Regions from separate parts of the Homo sapiens genome. Here regions 1, 2 and 3 are each linked to region 4. The links are contacts of gene promoters, found by promoter capture Hi-C in blood cells and fetal thymus (Javierre and others, 2016). All regions are on one chromosome and are shown on one strand. The core of a region is centred on a gene start or on the middle of the fragment in contact, and the rest is flanking DNA. Distances in the headings are between cores, read along the strand shown. Region 1 overlaps ERAP2 (endoplasmic reticulum aminopeptidase 2). Region 2 holds the start of LNPEP (leucyl and cystinyl aminopeptidase). Region 3 overlaps ERAP2 (endoplasmic reticulum aminopeptidase 2). Region 4 holds the start of ARRDC3 (arrestin domain containing 3).

Region 1 (3,334 bases), core at 207-2,706, 5.5 Mb after region 4:
AAACCTACTATGTTTTCTATTGCTTTTACAGTGTCAAATAGAAACTAAAACTAAACATTTTTCTCCCTGTTTAGGATGACTATTTTTTGAATGTGTGTTTTGAAGTAATTACAAAAGATTCATTGAATTCATCCCGCCCTATCTCCAAACCAGCGGAAACCCCGACTCAAATACAGGAAATGTTTGATGAAGTTTCCTATAACAAGGTAGTAAATATCAGGTGCAGGTGGAAGCTCTGCTTTCAGAAGTGTAATAATGACTATAGAATCAGCAGTTTAAGTCACTGGTGCCAGTTCCTGCTACTTGTTTCACTTTTTATTTGTTCACTTTTCAGACATCACACATGTTCCGTAAAATTTAAGCTTCCTTTAAAAACATACCATACTACCATTTTCTTTATCTCTTTTTTCAACTCTTTTGTTTTTTTTTAAAGGGAGCTTGTATTTTGAATATGCTCAAGGATTTTCTGGGTGAGGAGAAATTCCAGAAAGGAATAATTCAGTACTTAAAGAAGTTCAGCTATAGAAATGCTAAGAATGATGACTTGTGGAGCAGTCTGTCAAATGTAAGTCATATGTTGGGTAACGATAGACTGTTATTTAATCTAGAAAGTAACAGAATAATTGTGAATGTTTATAAATAGCTATATATTGTCAGTCAACCATATTTATTCTGCTTGCTATGTTGTCATGGTCTATAGAAGGCAGCACTTCCCTTTTTCCTCTAACACCACACTAGGATGTCACGCTGGGGTGGCCCCAGGGGCTCACTATTTGACCTGACTTTCTTTGGTTTCTCTTCTACGACTAATCCTACACTTTTATGTTCCCTTGATCTAAAATCTTTAAAATGTTGTAATTTCTACCATATAACACCTAATCTCTGGCAAATTTTAAGGTTGTCAACTGTATTCCCCAATGTGTATATATTTGTTGAGCAAAACTAATCTTCTCTCTTATAAGAAGAAATCTTGCTCAATCTCTAGATCATTGTGCCTATATTTCTAGTGCCTTTACTAGCTGAAATGCCCTTTCTTCTTTCCAACAATTCAAATGCCACCCAACTTTTAAGATCCAGCTGAGATTTCACCTCCTCCTTACAGACTGTTCCAGCCCTCATTCGTTTGCCTGTCTGCTAAATTCTTAGCAGTGCACTTATAATCTGTTCCACATAATAGTACCCTCTTTTATTGTTTTTATTAGTTCAATAATGATAATGTGCTTAAGAACAAAAATTGTGTCTATTCTTTTTTTAATGTGATAGCACCTAGCATATGTTGATCTTATAATAGTGATTAATAAGCAGTTAATGATTGATTAAAGAACTTATGGTCTGTCTTTGGGATTCATGTAGATAATAGGAAAGGCAAAGCAGAAAAATTCAGTTAATTCAGATGATTCTAATAATTATTAAAATATTTTAAAATTTCCAACTGCAAAGAAAATAATTTTTTATAGAACCATTAGACCCAGAGAACTCATACCTGTAATTAGAAGAACCCTAAGTCATTGTAGACAGAAGAGATCCTTTCTTTTTTACAAGCACTTGTGTCCCAGGGACAGTAATAATATTGTTTAATATTTCTGCAGCAGTTTACAGTTTAAAGACACTTTCATGGCCGGGTACAATGGCTCACGCCTGTAATCCCAAGACTTTGGGACACCAAGGTGGGTAGATCACTTCAGGTCAGGAGTTTGAGACCAGCCTGGCCAATTCGTGGAACCCCGTCTGTACTAGAAATACAAACATTAGCTTGGCATGGTGGTGCTTGCCTGTAATCCCAGCTATTCGTGAGGCTAAGGCAGGAGAATCACTTGAACCCAGGAGCTGGAGGTTGCAGTGAGCCGAGATTGCACCACTGCACTCCAGCCTGGGTGACAGAGTGAGACTCTGTCTCAATAATAATAATAATAACAATAATTAATAATAAATAAAAAATCAAAGTTAAAGAATAAAAAGCACTTTCATGTTGATTATCTCATTTGATATTTTTGTGCCCTTATAAAGCACACTTATGGTCCAACTGATGTGTGATTTTGTGGTTAAAGAAACAAAATCCAACAATCAAAAATTATTTCACAGCTCCTATTTTTTACTTGCATTTCTTGAAAATCCTGAGACATATTCAAATACATAGTTTTTACTTACAAAAATACTTATAGGCCTGGTGCGGTGGCTCATGCTTGTAATCCCATCACTTTGGGAGACCGAGGTGGGCAAATTGCCTGAGGTCAGTCTGGCCAACATGGTGAAAACCCATCTCTACTAAAATACAAAAAAAAAAAAAAAAAAAATTAGCCAGGTCTGGTGGATCACCTGTAATCCCAGCTACTCGGGAGGTTGAGGCAGGAGAATCACTTGAATCCAGGAGGCGGAGTTGCAATGAGCTGAGATCACACCACTGGACTCCAGCCTGGTGACAGAGTGAGACTCTGTCTTAAAACAAAACAAAACAAACAAACAAACAAAAAACATATAAAGATGCTCTTTACTATCCATTTCCATCACCCACCGTCAGTGGTCCAGACACACTTTCTCCATGCTTCCGCTTAAGCTTCTCAGCACCAAGTATTGTGTTGCTTCTGTCTCTCATCCCTCTCCATTTCCCTCTCCCTTGCCATGTGTGTGTGCATGTATGTATATTTGTAGACATCAGTTTAGCTCCCCTCCAACACGGAAGAATCTATCATTTGGTGTGCATACTGGCAGTAGAGGGTGGGAGTTAAAAAGAAAATTTGGCCAGCAATTACCAGATCATTTTAGGCCAGCAGTGTAAATTCCTGTGTTATTTTTTGTCACATCATGCTTATAATCATCTCAAAAGATAAAGTAATCATCATTACTCTGTGTTTATAAGTGAGAAAACTGATACTAAGGGACAGATTTGCCCAAAGTCACCAAGTCAGTGAGAAAATCAGTACTTAAAATTTGTCTTCTAAGTCCAATAGTTATTCAATTATATCACAGCTAGTTCCTAGTTTTAAGAAAAGTCCCCCATCAATCTTCCCCTAAAGGTCCTAGATTTTGACCAACTCTCTTCTGACACCAAAGGGCCCTGTAGTATTAAAATAATAAATTACTGAAAATATCTTGCCCACCATTGTGTCACATAAAGTCAATTCTAATACATGTCAATAGCAACTTGAGAATGAGAAGAATTAGTTGCTGTTATTTTTCATAAGATCATTTAAAGGCATTTGAGAGCCTTAGCACATTCTTCATTTTTTCTCATTTGCAGTTGCCCTTAAGTACTGGTTATTCAAGGGTCAATTGCCAAGTTGGTACTTTTCTTAATTCTTATTTTATTCCCAGTTAGTTCGAAATATTGTACACT
Region 2 (3,422 bases), core at 913-3,412, 5.6 Mb after region 4:
GCCTAACGGTTCTGATTACCTTTCACACATTAGGGAGATAGCAGCTCTGAGGTATCATATGATACAGACACCTTCTCTGTACTGATCAAACACATCATTCAGTATGGAGTCATTAACTGGAAGGGTTTGCAGCAGTGGAAGTGAACTCTAAACACCACTATGTCCTTCACTTATTCATGCAAAAATTATTTATTGTATACTTACCCAGGCATTGGGGATACAGCCTTAAAAAAGATTACGACTCTGCCCTCACAAAGCTTGCATTCTTGAGAAGGGAGACTGATAATAAGCAACAAATCCAAAACATTGTTTCAGACAGTGATGAGTGCTGAGAAGGAAATAAAGCAAGGCCAAGTCTTTATAGAGTGTTTGTGGCTATTTTAGATGTATGGTCAGACAAGGGTTCTTTGCAGAGGTGACATTTGAGCCGAGACTTAAATGACAAGATGGAATCAGTAGGCAAAGCACTAAGCAGAAGAAACAGTTCTTGTGCGAGGAGCGAGCAAAAGGAATTATTAACAATGATGGATGGAACTTGGCGACTTCCGGGAACAGCATGAAGGCCTTTGTTACCAAAATATGGTGAGTATGTGCTGATGAGGTCCCAGAGTTAGGCAAGGAGTTTCATTTTTTATTCTAAGTGCAGTTGGTATCCACTGGAAGTTTCAAGTAGAGCGTGCGTTGTGAGGGATGTAATAACAACAGGCAGTTTAAAATACAATATTGTACTTCGATTTGACTTCTTCGAAACCTAGTTTCCAATTCCAGTGCTGGTCAAACAACACCCTGGCCGTCCCTGTTTGAGCAGGCTGTTTGCGCTTGCCGCGGCTTGTTTGTCCCTGGCGCCCCGCTGTTGAAAGCCTCAGAGCGTGTGACAGTTGGCAGGCGCAGTGAGGCGCAGCCCGAGCCAAGTCAATGCAGGGGCCGGGGCTGAGGGAGGGGAAGAGGCAGAGGAGGCGGTGATGGCGCGCTGGGAGGGCGGCGGCCTCTGCAGCGAGGGTGGTGGCGATGCGCATACCGAGAGGATAAGGAAGCGGTTCCCGACGAGCCTCCTCGGGGCTTATGGGGCCCCTGGCGGTTCGGCCTCGGAGGCTAGCGGGGCTGCCCGATTTGGCACTGGAAACAATGGTGGCTCGGGGCTGGAGGCAATGGCGCGAGTGCTGGGGGGCAGGGGCGACTAGGGGAGTTTCGGTTTCTCGGGCCTAGCGCCGCGGAGCCTTGCTGCGGGCCCCAGTGGTAGCACCCCCGGGAACCGCAGGTGTTGATTTAAGGCTCGGAACAGGCGGGCCTTCTGCCCACATCCTGCGGCGCCCGCGACCCGGGCCGGGCGATCCGGCGCCGGGTTTTGTTATCCGCCCGCACCTAGAGGCCGCAAGGCAGCCGCCAGCCCCGGGACTGGACCCCAGGGCGCCCTCGGCCCTGCGAGGTCCCCGCCCTCTCTTCCGTCTCCTCCTCACCGCCCTCCTGAGGCACTCTGATGCGGGCGGGCATCTCTGCCGAAAACACCTACAGCGCCCGCTCCCTCGGTCCTTCGAGCAGTGATCCCTCCGCGGCCAACCTCCCCAGGGAAACCAGCGATTCGCGGTTCAGATAGCGACCTTCGCCCGCAGGTTCCTGCTCTGCCTTCAGACTTCGGCTTCAGTGGCACCTGCTCAGCGAGGCCTCGTCTAACCAAGCCATCCGAATTAACTACCCACTCACTCGCCATCACATCACCCCGATTTAATTCGCAGCGGGGCACTGACTTTACACTCGTGTGTCTTCTGTGTTTATTTATGGTCTGTTTCTGGAATGTCCGCTCCTGGGACTGGGACCATGATTTTCTGGCGCAGTGCGGGTGTCTCGGCGTCCGGGATCGGGCGGGTCGCAGTAGGGCTCCACATTTGTTGAGTGACTGAACACCGTTCCCGGCCGGGGAGAGCGCCGCAGCCGGGTCCACTTCAGGTAGGGGCTGGGCTTTCCCGGCCCCGCCTAGGCCCCGCCCCCAGCGCGAACCCGCTCCCACCTCGCCTGTCCACGGAGCAGCAGGGGGTTTGACTGTGCTTTTCCCTCTTGCTTCCCTCGCTCTTTCTGCAGCTGCCACGAAAACCCGGAACGGCGGAGCGGCGCCGCCCCTCGCGGCACCTCCCTGGCAGCCCTTGGAGGCCGCGCTGGGCATGCTCAGTCAGCTGGGCCGCCTCAGCTCTCGGAGTAGGAAGCTCGGGCGCTCCGGCTGTAAGGAGCCGCGGCGGGGGGAAAATGGAGCCCTTCACCAATGGTGAGTGGGCTGCCGAGGCGCCGGGACCCGGGCTCTCCGGAGCCCTGAGGGTCGTGGGCAGTCGTGACACGCGGGGTCGGGCTGCAGCCGTCTCCCCCAACACCGCGGGCTTCCCACGAGGGCTGAGGGAGGCAGGGAGAGGGGATCTGGGGGAGGCAGGGAGGTTCGGGGGGCGGGCGGCGGCCAGTGCGGGACCCGGGGCTGGCTTGAAGGTCAGCGCCGCCGCCGCTCGCCCGGGGTGCGGCCGGTGGGCAAACAGCAAAGTTTGGGCTGCTGTGCGCAGAGGAGTGGGCAGTGGGAAAGTTGGCAGCTCAGGTTTGCCCCCGGAGGAGGCGGTGTCGGCCCGACTCTCCTGTAGGAGCGTTAAGTTGTGGCAGCTGCCGAGCCCAACTTTTGTGGGGCGCCAGGAGCTGTCCCCCTGCCCTTCAGTGAGCTGCCGGCGTGACTTTTCCTAATAGGGCGGGGTGGGGGTGGGAGGCTTGGCAGGTTAATGTTGTGGAAGGAAGGGAAACTTCAGGAAAGGCTTGCTCACCTCGCTCGGTGCCGCGGAGGTGCCTGGCCACAGTGCCACCCTCCTGACCCTGCCGAGGTACTCGGCAGGGCCACCACGCATCCCCTCACTGGCTGCAGATCACATCAGTTTTTCAGTCAAAGACTTGTTAATGTCAAGGGTCCGTCACGGTGGTGATACCACTGTGTGACAGGAAGCGAGAGTCAACGCAGGGAGCCTGCACCCTGCAAACAGCCACAGCCCTTCACTGAACGGGGAGCATAAATCCCACCCTAGTTAGAACCATGGCTTTTGTGCGGACCAGAAGTGCCAGAGCCACAATATAGGGGTGAGATGTCTTACCGTTTTGCGGTGTTGAGTGTGTGGATTCCCTTTTAAGATAGAAAGTAGGAAAACTGCCAGTAAGGGAGACGACTCACTAAAAGAGGATTCAGTCTCTGGTTGACATGTTTTGCTGAGTGTGGTTGGTTACTTCAGGTACAGTATCACATTAATAGGGGCCACAGTCTATATCCCTGTTTAGTTTGTTAGTTACCACTCAAGAGCAGACAGATATTGTCCACTTTATCCCAAATCCCAGCCAGACTTTGTTGTATGCTGTGCTTCATTCATGGGGCTGTGAACTACTGATTATATTCTCCCTATTCCTAATGT
Region 3 (3,497 bases), core at 794-3,293, 5.5 Mb after region 4:
TGTGTTGTAGCTTTACCCTTCAAAAAGAAAGAAACTTAGTTCTATTTACAAAGGTAGTAAATTCAGTTTGATTTAATTGTGCTTTCAAAAGTAGTGTAAAGGGAAAAGAACCGAACCTTAAAAAAATTCTGTAAGAATATTATAAACTCAAAATTTATTTCCATGGCTTTTGACATATTGAAAATAAACTGGGGATAAATACCTACCTTGACCAGCAACCTTTACACCAGTAGCCATAAAATGAGGCCATTCAGATAATGTTATTGAAAGAGGTGAAGTTCAATGCCATTCGTAGTAATAATAATATCTGGTATCCAAAGAATATAGAATATATATATAGAATATTCTTTGTGACTTATGAAGACAAAATAGAGACATCTTGCACAGTTTACTTTCAGGCATACACTTAAAATTACATGTGTGCCTGTGGTTCCAGCTAATTGGGAGGCTGAGACATCAGGATTGCTTGACCCCAGGAATTTGAGGCCAGCCTGGGCAACATGGTGACACATTGTCTTTCAAAAAAAATAAAATATGGCCAGGCGCAGTGACCCACGCCTGTGATCTCAGCACTTTGGGAGGCTGAGGCAAGTGGATCACCTGAGGTCAGGAGTTCGAGACTAGCCAGGCCAACATGGTGAAACCCCGTCTCTACTAAAAATACAAAAATTAGCTGGGTGTGGTGGCACATACCTGTAATCCCAGCTACTCGGGAGGCTGAGGGAGAAGAATCACTTGAACCCCAGAGGCAGAGGTTGCAGTGAGCCAAGATAGTGCCACTGCATTCCAACCTGGACAACAGCGAGATTCCGTCTCAAAAACATAAATAAATGAATAAAAATAAAGTAGGCTGGTCACAGTGGCTCACGCTTGTAATCCCAACAGTTTGGGAGGATTGCTTGAGTTTAGGAGTTTGAGACCAGCCTGGGTAACAGGGAGACCCCCATCTCTACAAAAAAGGTAGCCGAGTGTGGCGGTGTGTGTCTGTAGTCCCAGCTACTCTGGAGGCTGAGGTGGGAGGATCACTTGAGCCCAGGAAGTTGAGGCTGCAGTGAGCTGTGATCATGATTGCACACTCTACTCCTGCCTGGGCAACAGAGCAAGACCCTGTCTAAAACATAAATAAATAAACAAAAATTTAAAATATAACCAAATGTTAAAAACATTCAACATGCAATGAATTTACACACCTGCCTTCTGCTCGCTGCACAAGAATTCAGAAGAAATTCATTACATTCAATTTTAAGGTAGGGTTTTTTGGGGGAGTCCTAAAGGGTTTTTATTTGTAATAACCAGATAACAGCTTAATTTCTGCTCTATTTTGTGGATACTTGGCCTAATTCTGACAGAGAGCAGATTTTCCCTTACTCACACATACCTTTTTACATGTTTAAGATTTTATTTGTAAATTGAAATCTTTTTTGTCATGCTATAAGTGTGTTTTTTTCTTCTAGATTAAATTCATGTATTGAAAATATTGTTCAGACCCCATGTGACATAACTGGAGCCAGTGCAGTGCCATGAAGAACTACGAGATTAGCCTGGATATTAACTTGTCTTCTAGAGAATAGATTTCATGTTCCATTCTTCTGCAATGGTTAATTCACACAGAAAACCAATGTTTAACATTCACAGAGGATTTTACTGCTTAACAGCCATCTTGCCCCAAATATGCATTTGTTCTCAGTTCTCAGTGCCATCTAGTTATCACTTCACTGAGGATCCTGGGGCTTTCCCAGTAGCCACTAATGGGGAACGATTTCCTTGGCAGGAGCTAAGGCTCCCCAGTGTGGTCATTCCTCTCCATTATGACCTCTTTGTCCACCCCAATCTCACCTCTCTGGACTTTGTTGCATCTGAGAAGATCGAAGTCTTGGTCAGCAATGCTACCCAGTTTATCATCTTGCACAGCAAAGATCTTGAAATCACGAATGCCACCCTTCAGTCAGAGGAAGATTCAAGATACATGAAACCAGGAAAAGAACTGAAAGTTTTGAGTTACCCTGCTCATGAACAAATTGCACTGCTGGTTCCAGAGAAACTTACGCCTCACCTGAAATACTATGTGGCTATGGACTTCCAAGCCAAGTTAGGTGATGGCTTTGAAGGGTTTTATAAAAGCACATACAGAACTCTTGGTGGTGAAACAAGGTAAGAACTTGCTCAGGTAATTTACATTCTTTTGTGATAATTTCCTTACGAGTTACATCTCTTTGCCAGGAGCAGACTTCAGCAGCCATTTATGAGAAATCCAGTGAACTATGGGGAACCCAGAAGAAGGAAAAGATCTACCATTCCTTAAGGAAACCACAGTAGAGATGTAAAGACAGGACTCAGAGGCATAAACAGCTAGAGGGTGAATAACTAGGAGGAGAGGCCAGTATATGACTGATATGATAGATATGCTTATGTGCTAGGGAAAGAGATGGTCAGTGCAGAGAGGGCTGAAATAGGGAATGCTTCTCAAAGGAAGTGAGTCTTCATCTGGGACCAGAAGGAAATGTAAGTGAGACTGGGATTGGGAGAGAGGAAGTGACAAAGTATACATTGCCTAGGTAACAGCCATGACTCATATCGAATAGTCAGAAACAAGGAACTAGTTTGGAAAATTGAGAAATATAGTCAATTTGATCAAGTCACATTCATTGAGCACATACTATGTGCCAGGCACTGCACTAGGCACTGAATGTATAATGGTGGGATCTGATGGAAGAGACAACCAGGACAAGAAAATCAATAAAATTGGCAAGGTAATTGGCCAGTGTTATGAATGAAATAAAACAAGGTGCAAGAAAGGTAGAAAATGAGGCTGGAGATTGAAACTAATTCAGTTGACTGGGCAGGGAAGTGTTTGTTGAGGAAGTGAATTTAAATTGAGAGCTGAGTTTTTTTTTAAAGAGACAGTTATGAGAACATCTCGGGGCAAGTGCTCTAAAGTGGGATTGGTTGAGGAAGGCCAGTGTAAGCTGAGGAGAGCGAACAAGAGGGAGAAAGGGATCAGATCATGTGGAGCCTTGGGGCGTCTTGTAAGGAGTTTTGACTTTAACTCAGATGAAATGGGAAATCACTGGAGGATTCTGCTCTGATTTATGCTTTATAAAGATCAAGTCTATGTTGAGGGTATGTTATAGAGAAGCAGAGTAATCAATTGGGAGGTCATTGCAGTAGTTCAGGTAAGAAGTGATGCTAATTTGGGCCAGGCTAGTGGCAGTGCTTATGGAGTGAAACAATTGAACTTGGCAGTTATTTTGGAGGGCAAAACAACAGAGATTGCTGACATATTGGTCATGTGAGGTGAGGGAAATAGAAGAATCAAGGATGCTTCATAGAGTGGACGGCTTGGTTTCCCAGGGCCAGGATCCATCTGGGAGGTAAGAGGAGTCTGGCTCAGTGCACTCTCACGTTATGTGAATTGTGTTCAATTGCCAGTTGGAGAAATCTAAATTCCATGGCTTAACCACACAGGGGCATATTTTTCTCATGCAACAAGAAGTCCA
Region 4 (3,585 bases), core at 61-2,560:
GACAACCCTTTATCTCTCTCTTCTAACCAAAAATCAAATCCAGTGTGCCCTATACTTTTCAATTCCATTTGACTGGCATGGGTTTCATTGAATGCACGTTCCAAAGTTAGACATGATGCTCGGAAAAGAAAATTACTGATCCTAAATGGCTTCTAAACCTGACTCGATACCTATCATAATGACAGATAGTCATTCCTTTAAAATAAGGAATGCTGGGTGTAAATTTTTAAAGGAATGGTAAAGAATAGAGAAAAAACACGTGGGGTGTTGATACCATATGTCAAAATAAGCCACAGAAATCTTTTATGAAAGAACAGTCATCAATTATTTAAAGTCTTTTGCATTCCAATATTAAAAATGAAACACACCCATTAAGTCTCTTAAAAATGTTATTACATTTCTTGATCGAAGTTCAGTTTTTACATCTTAGGTTGCAAGTAAAAGGGCAAAAATCTAAGACTGCAGCTTTTACCAATTCATTTGAAAATATATTAGTAAAACGACTGAATTGGATTCAAACAGAATTTATAAGTAAGGTGCAAATGGACTACAAGTGCGTGTGGCACAGACCGAGCCGGGTACAGAGGTAGCTGAATAAGTGTAGTTTGCAGTCACTTTGCAGATGCCTGCATGCATTACGGCTTAACACACGATGAACGTCAAGGAGAATCCAAACCTTCCAACTTTGCTAACCTTTCTCAAACTGCTTAGTTATGCTAGGAGTAGAATCACGTTAATTCAGAAAACTGAAAAGGTACGTTTCCAAAGAAAATGAGTCCAATGACTTATGAATAACAAAAACTTACCTCTTTCGTGCCCAATTAAGATGTCTTTATGGTTGAAATACTCTACTTCTTCAGTGTAATTCTGTGTATAGGCAGTATTGGAGCCGGCGTTTCTAGATTCAGTCCAGCGTACTTTCGCATGTCCTCTTGCATGAATTTTAAGAGATTTTACTCTGATTTCCCCAGTAACTTCTAAATTTACCCTTCCTGAGACGGTATCCCCACTAGAATACACAGGGACATTGCTGTCATTAAGACAGTCAAAGCTTATTGTCAAACTCTTCACCTTTCCCAGCACCATGTTTATAACAAAATCTATAAAAATATAATGTAAGACAAAAAAGTCAAGATCGCATATAAAATGTGATCTTCACTTAACACTGATCGATATTTTTGCCGTGCAAAATGCTTGCAGGCCGGATCAGTGATTCTCTACAAATAGTTCATTGAGATTTCTTAAAAAGTCAGGGCAGCAGAGGCTGCTGCTCCGCGCTCCCGCTCGTCTCAGTGGTCTCCTTACAAAGACGGGCGGCTAAAAGCTGCCAGCTCACTTTAAGAGCAGCTTTGTGAAAAACAACCCCAGTGCGCAGGCGCAGGCCGCGGCTGCTGTCCGCCCTCCCTGCGCGCCCCCTCCCGCGCCGCGCCGCGCCGCGCTCGCTCCCTTGCCCGCTCGCTCCCGGGTACAGTAGGTGTAGAGCTAGGGGAAGGAGATACTGGAGCTGCTGGCCGGCTGAACCTGACTTCTCTTCATTGTGGGCTCCTATTGGTAGGCAGGCTACCGTATACCCTCGACGTGCTATCTGGAGCCCGTTACCGAGCGCACTCTACTAGAAAGATAATGGCAGAGTGGGGTGCGAGGGTACAAGGGCTGGGTGGGGAGTTTGCAAAGCCAAGTTAGGATAAACTGCAGCGACCAGCCCGAAGCGTGCGTTACCGGCACTGCAGCGTTTTACCAACTGCCTGGATGGGAGGAGGAAAAAGTGATGTGTGAAGAGAGATGGGGGAAGGGAGAAACCGGTTGGGCAAGCGGCCGATTGTTGAGCATAATCTAACGAATTTCCAAAGAAAACGTAATAAAACCGGACAAGAAATATTGTTCATAGACAAGAGCATACTTTGCTTGGATTTTTTTTTTTTAAACCAGTACTTTGTAGGCAGGTTGGAAATGAACTCAGTCGAGGTCAAAGGAACCTTAATCCTTTGAAGAGCGAGGTAGAGAAGCAAGTACAATGTAATCAATAGGCTTTGCTGTCTCCTCAACTTCTTTCTCCTACATTGCTTAATTAGCACCGAAAAACAACCAAGTTGTTTCCAGGATGACACGGGTGGGGGCTGGGGGAAGCTTGATCACTTCCTCGAAGGAAGAAAAAGTCCTTTTAAGACACCACCTACGGCTAGATTTGCAGAGTAAGACATGATTACAACTCCTGTGTCCAGAGGAATAAGAATAGAGTTCGGCCTAAAAAAGTACTACCTTATAAAAGGCATATGACATAGTGGTTTAGCTGACATATTGTTTGCAACAGAATCGGAAAATCTTTGTTAGAAATTAGTGAAGCGCATAAAATTGTTTTTAAAAAGCATGATTTGGTATATAAATAGGGATTTAACTGTGTGAAGCTTTAATTTTCGGCCGAGAGCCTTGGACCATTTAACGTAGTAATTCTCATGATACATCTTAAATATAGGTACATTTCTCTTTTTATTGTGAATGTTTGGTAAAAAATAGCAGTGCTTTCGTCACATCACACTGGGATTCAGAGCATAACAGCATAAACTCATCTAGATTACTGGCAATCAACAGAACTGCCTTACAAGAGAAATGTAGAAAGAAAAAATATGAATCTGGTGCTCTCTCTATATATATATGTATGACCAAAAATACCTTGGAAGATTTTTGGCTGTCCGTGTCTAAACGTTTTAGATTCTTTTGCGTAGTGTATATGGATAGGTTGAGCCTATGAGTCACAATAAACTAAACTTATTGGTCTTGCTGTTTTATTTCAAAAGAAACTAAGCTTTTGGGGGTTGGATTTTAGTTGACAAGGCAATATCTTGGACTCAACAGCAATATATAAAGAGTATAAATATGCAAACTAGACAATTAATGAGCAGGCCATTTATTTCAGAGTTTAGATCGCTATGCATAAAATTATAAATTTGCATATTTAAGTGGGAAAAACAGTCTTATCTTTTCCCTACCTCTTGGTTGACACCTGGTGGAAATTCTAGGTAAAGTACCTGGGGCCTTGTACTAGCTTTGATTACAGATACTACTTGTGTTTTTTCTCCACCTAGTGGTAGAAGTGGTGAATTTCCTAGAATGACAGCTTTTCCTCAGCATAAGGTCAATGATATTTAATAAGCATTCGAAAACCACTGAGCAAGGAATGGATTTAAAAGTGTAGTCCATAATGAATACATAAATTCATTGCACATTTGTGTCTACATTTATGTTAAAAATTATTAAGGGTTAGTGAACAGCTGAATTCGGATTTTTTTAGTAAAATTTATTTAATTAGAATATAACTCATTTCAGAAAAAATAAGAATTAGCTATATAAATACACCAGAATTGCATTTAATAAAAAAGAAGTCTAAGAAATTTATTTGTAGTTTGGAAAATTGTTTTAAAATATTAAATGTTTCATTCCTGTCACTGTGTAGTACATTATTCTTTGTGTTTGAAGCTTTCAGGATCTTTTGAATAGTTGTCTTTATTATTTATTTTGCTATTTTTAAAATTTTCTTTTTACTGTGTCTTCTTAAATACTTAGGTAACTGGCAAATTTCCAAGAAAT

Evidence for each region. Contacts are between HindIII fragments. The CHiCAGO score rates a contact against its expected background, and 5 or more counts as called.
Region 1: a contact is called between a fragment that was not itself captured here and the fragment with the promoter of ARRDC3 in region 4, in 1 of 17 cell types (total CD4 T cells). The highest score is 6.3, in total CD4 T cells.
Region 2: the fragment with the promoter of LNPEP here is called in contact with the fragment with the promoter of ARRDC3 in region 4 in 1 of 17 cell types (fetal thymus); the score reaches 10.7 in fetal thymus.
Region 3: a contact is called between a fragment that was not itself captured here and the fragment with the promoter of ARRDC3 in region 4, in 1 of 17 cell types (fetal thymus). The highest score is 5.4, in fetal thymus.

The regions. Positions count from the first base shown.
Region 1 is chr5:96,896,299-96,899,632 of GRCh38, forward strand. ERAP2 (endoplasmic reticulum aminopeptidase 2) reads left to right here. Exons shown (of 19, transcript NM_022350.5): 8 at 75-206; 9 at 434-565. It also overlaps a transcript of ERAP1 not described here. Among named protein-coding and RNA genes, the nearest start is that of ERAP2, 21 kb to the left of the region's middle. RefSeq lists an enhancer at 828-887. The HindIII fragment of the contact is 2,192 bases long and covers 361-2,552 here.
Region 2 is chr5:96,933,918-96,937,339 of GRCh38, forward strand. It overlaps LNPEP (leucyl and cystinyl aminopeptidase), which reads left to right and starts at 2,163. Exons shown (of 18, transcript NM_005575.3): 1 at 2,163-2,257. The coding sequence starts at 2,239. LOC124901030 reads right to left here and starts at 2,158. Exons shown (of 1, transcript XM_047417984.1): 1 at 174-2,158. The coding sequence starts at 2,158. The coding sequence ends at 1,454. It also overlaps a transcript of ERAP1 not described here. RefSeq lists enhancers at 367-576, 637-766, 1,077-1,216, 1,517-1,826 and silencers at 847-966, 1,407-1,476, 2,417-2,486, 2,617-2,696. The HindIII fragment of the contact is 7,112 bases long and covers 256-3,422 here.
Region 3 is chr5:96,878,110-96,881,606 of GRCh38, forward strand. ERAP2 (endoplasmic reticulum aminopeptidase 2) reads left to right here. Exons shown (of 19, transcript NM_022350.5): 2 at 1,455-2,151. The coding sequence starts at 1,577. It also overlaps a transcript of ERAP1 not described here. Among named protein-coding and RNA genes, the nearest start is that of ERAP2, 3.4 kb to the left of the region's middle. The HindIII fragment of the contact is 5,584 bases long and covers 1-3,497 here.
Region 4 is chr5:91,382,007-91,385,591 of GRCh38, forward strand. ARRDC3 (arrestin domain containing 3) reads right to left here and starts at 1,311. Exons shown (of 8, transcript NM_020801.4): 1 at 807-1,311. The coding sequence starts at 1,086. All of the region lies in intron 1 of ARRDC3-AS1 (ARRDC3 antisense RNA 1), which reads left to right. RefSeq lists a silencer at 1,218-1,527 and enhancers at 1,381-1,898, 1,778-2,077. The HindIII fragment of the contact is 1,076 bases long and covers 1,050-2,125 here.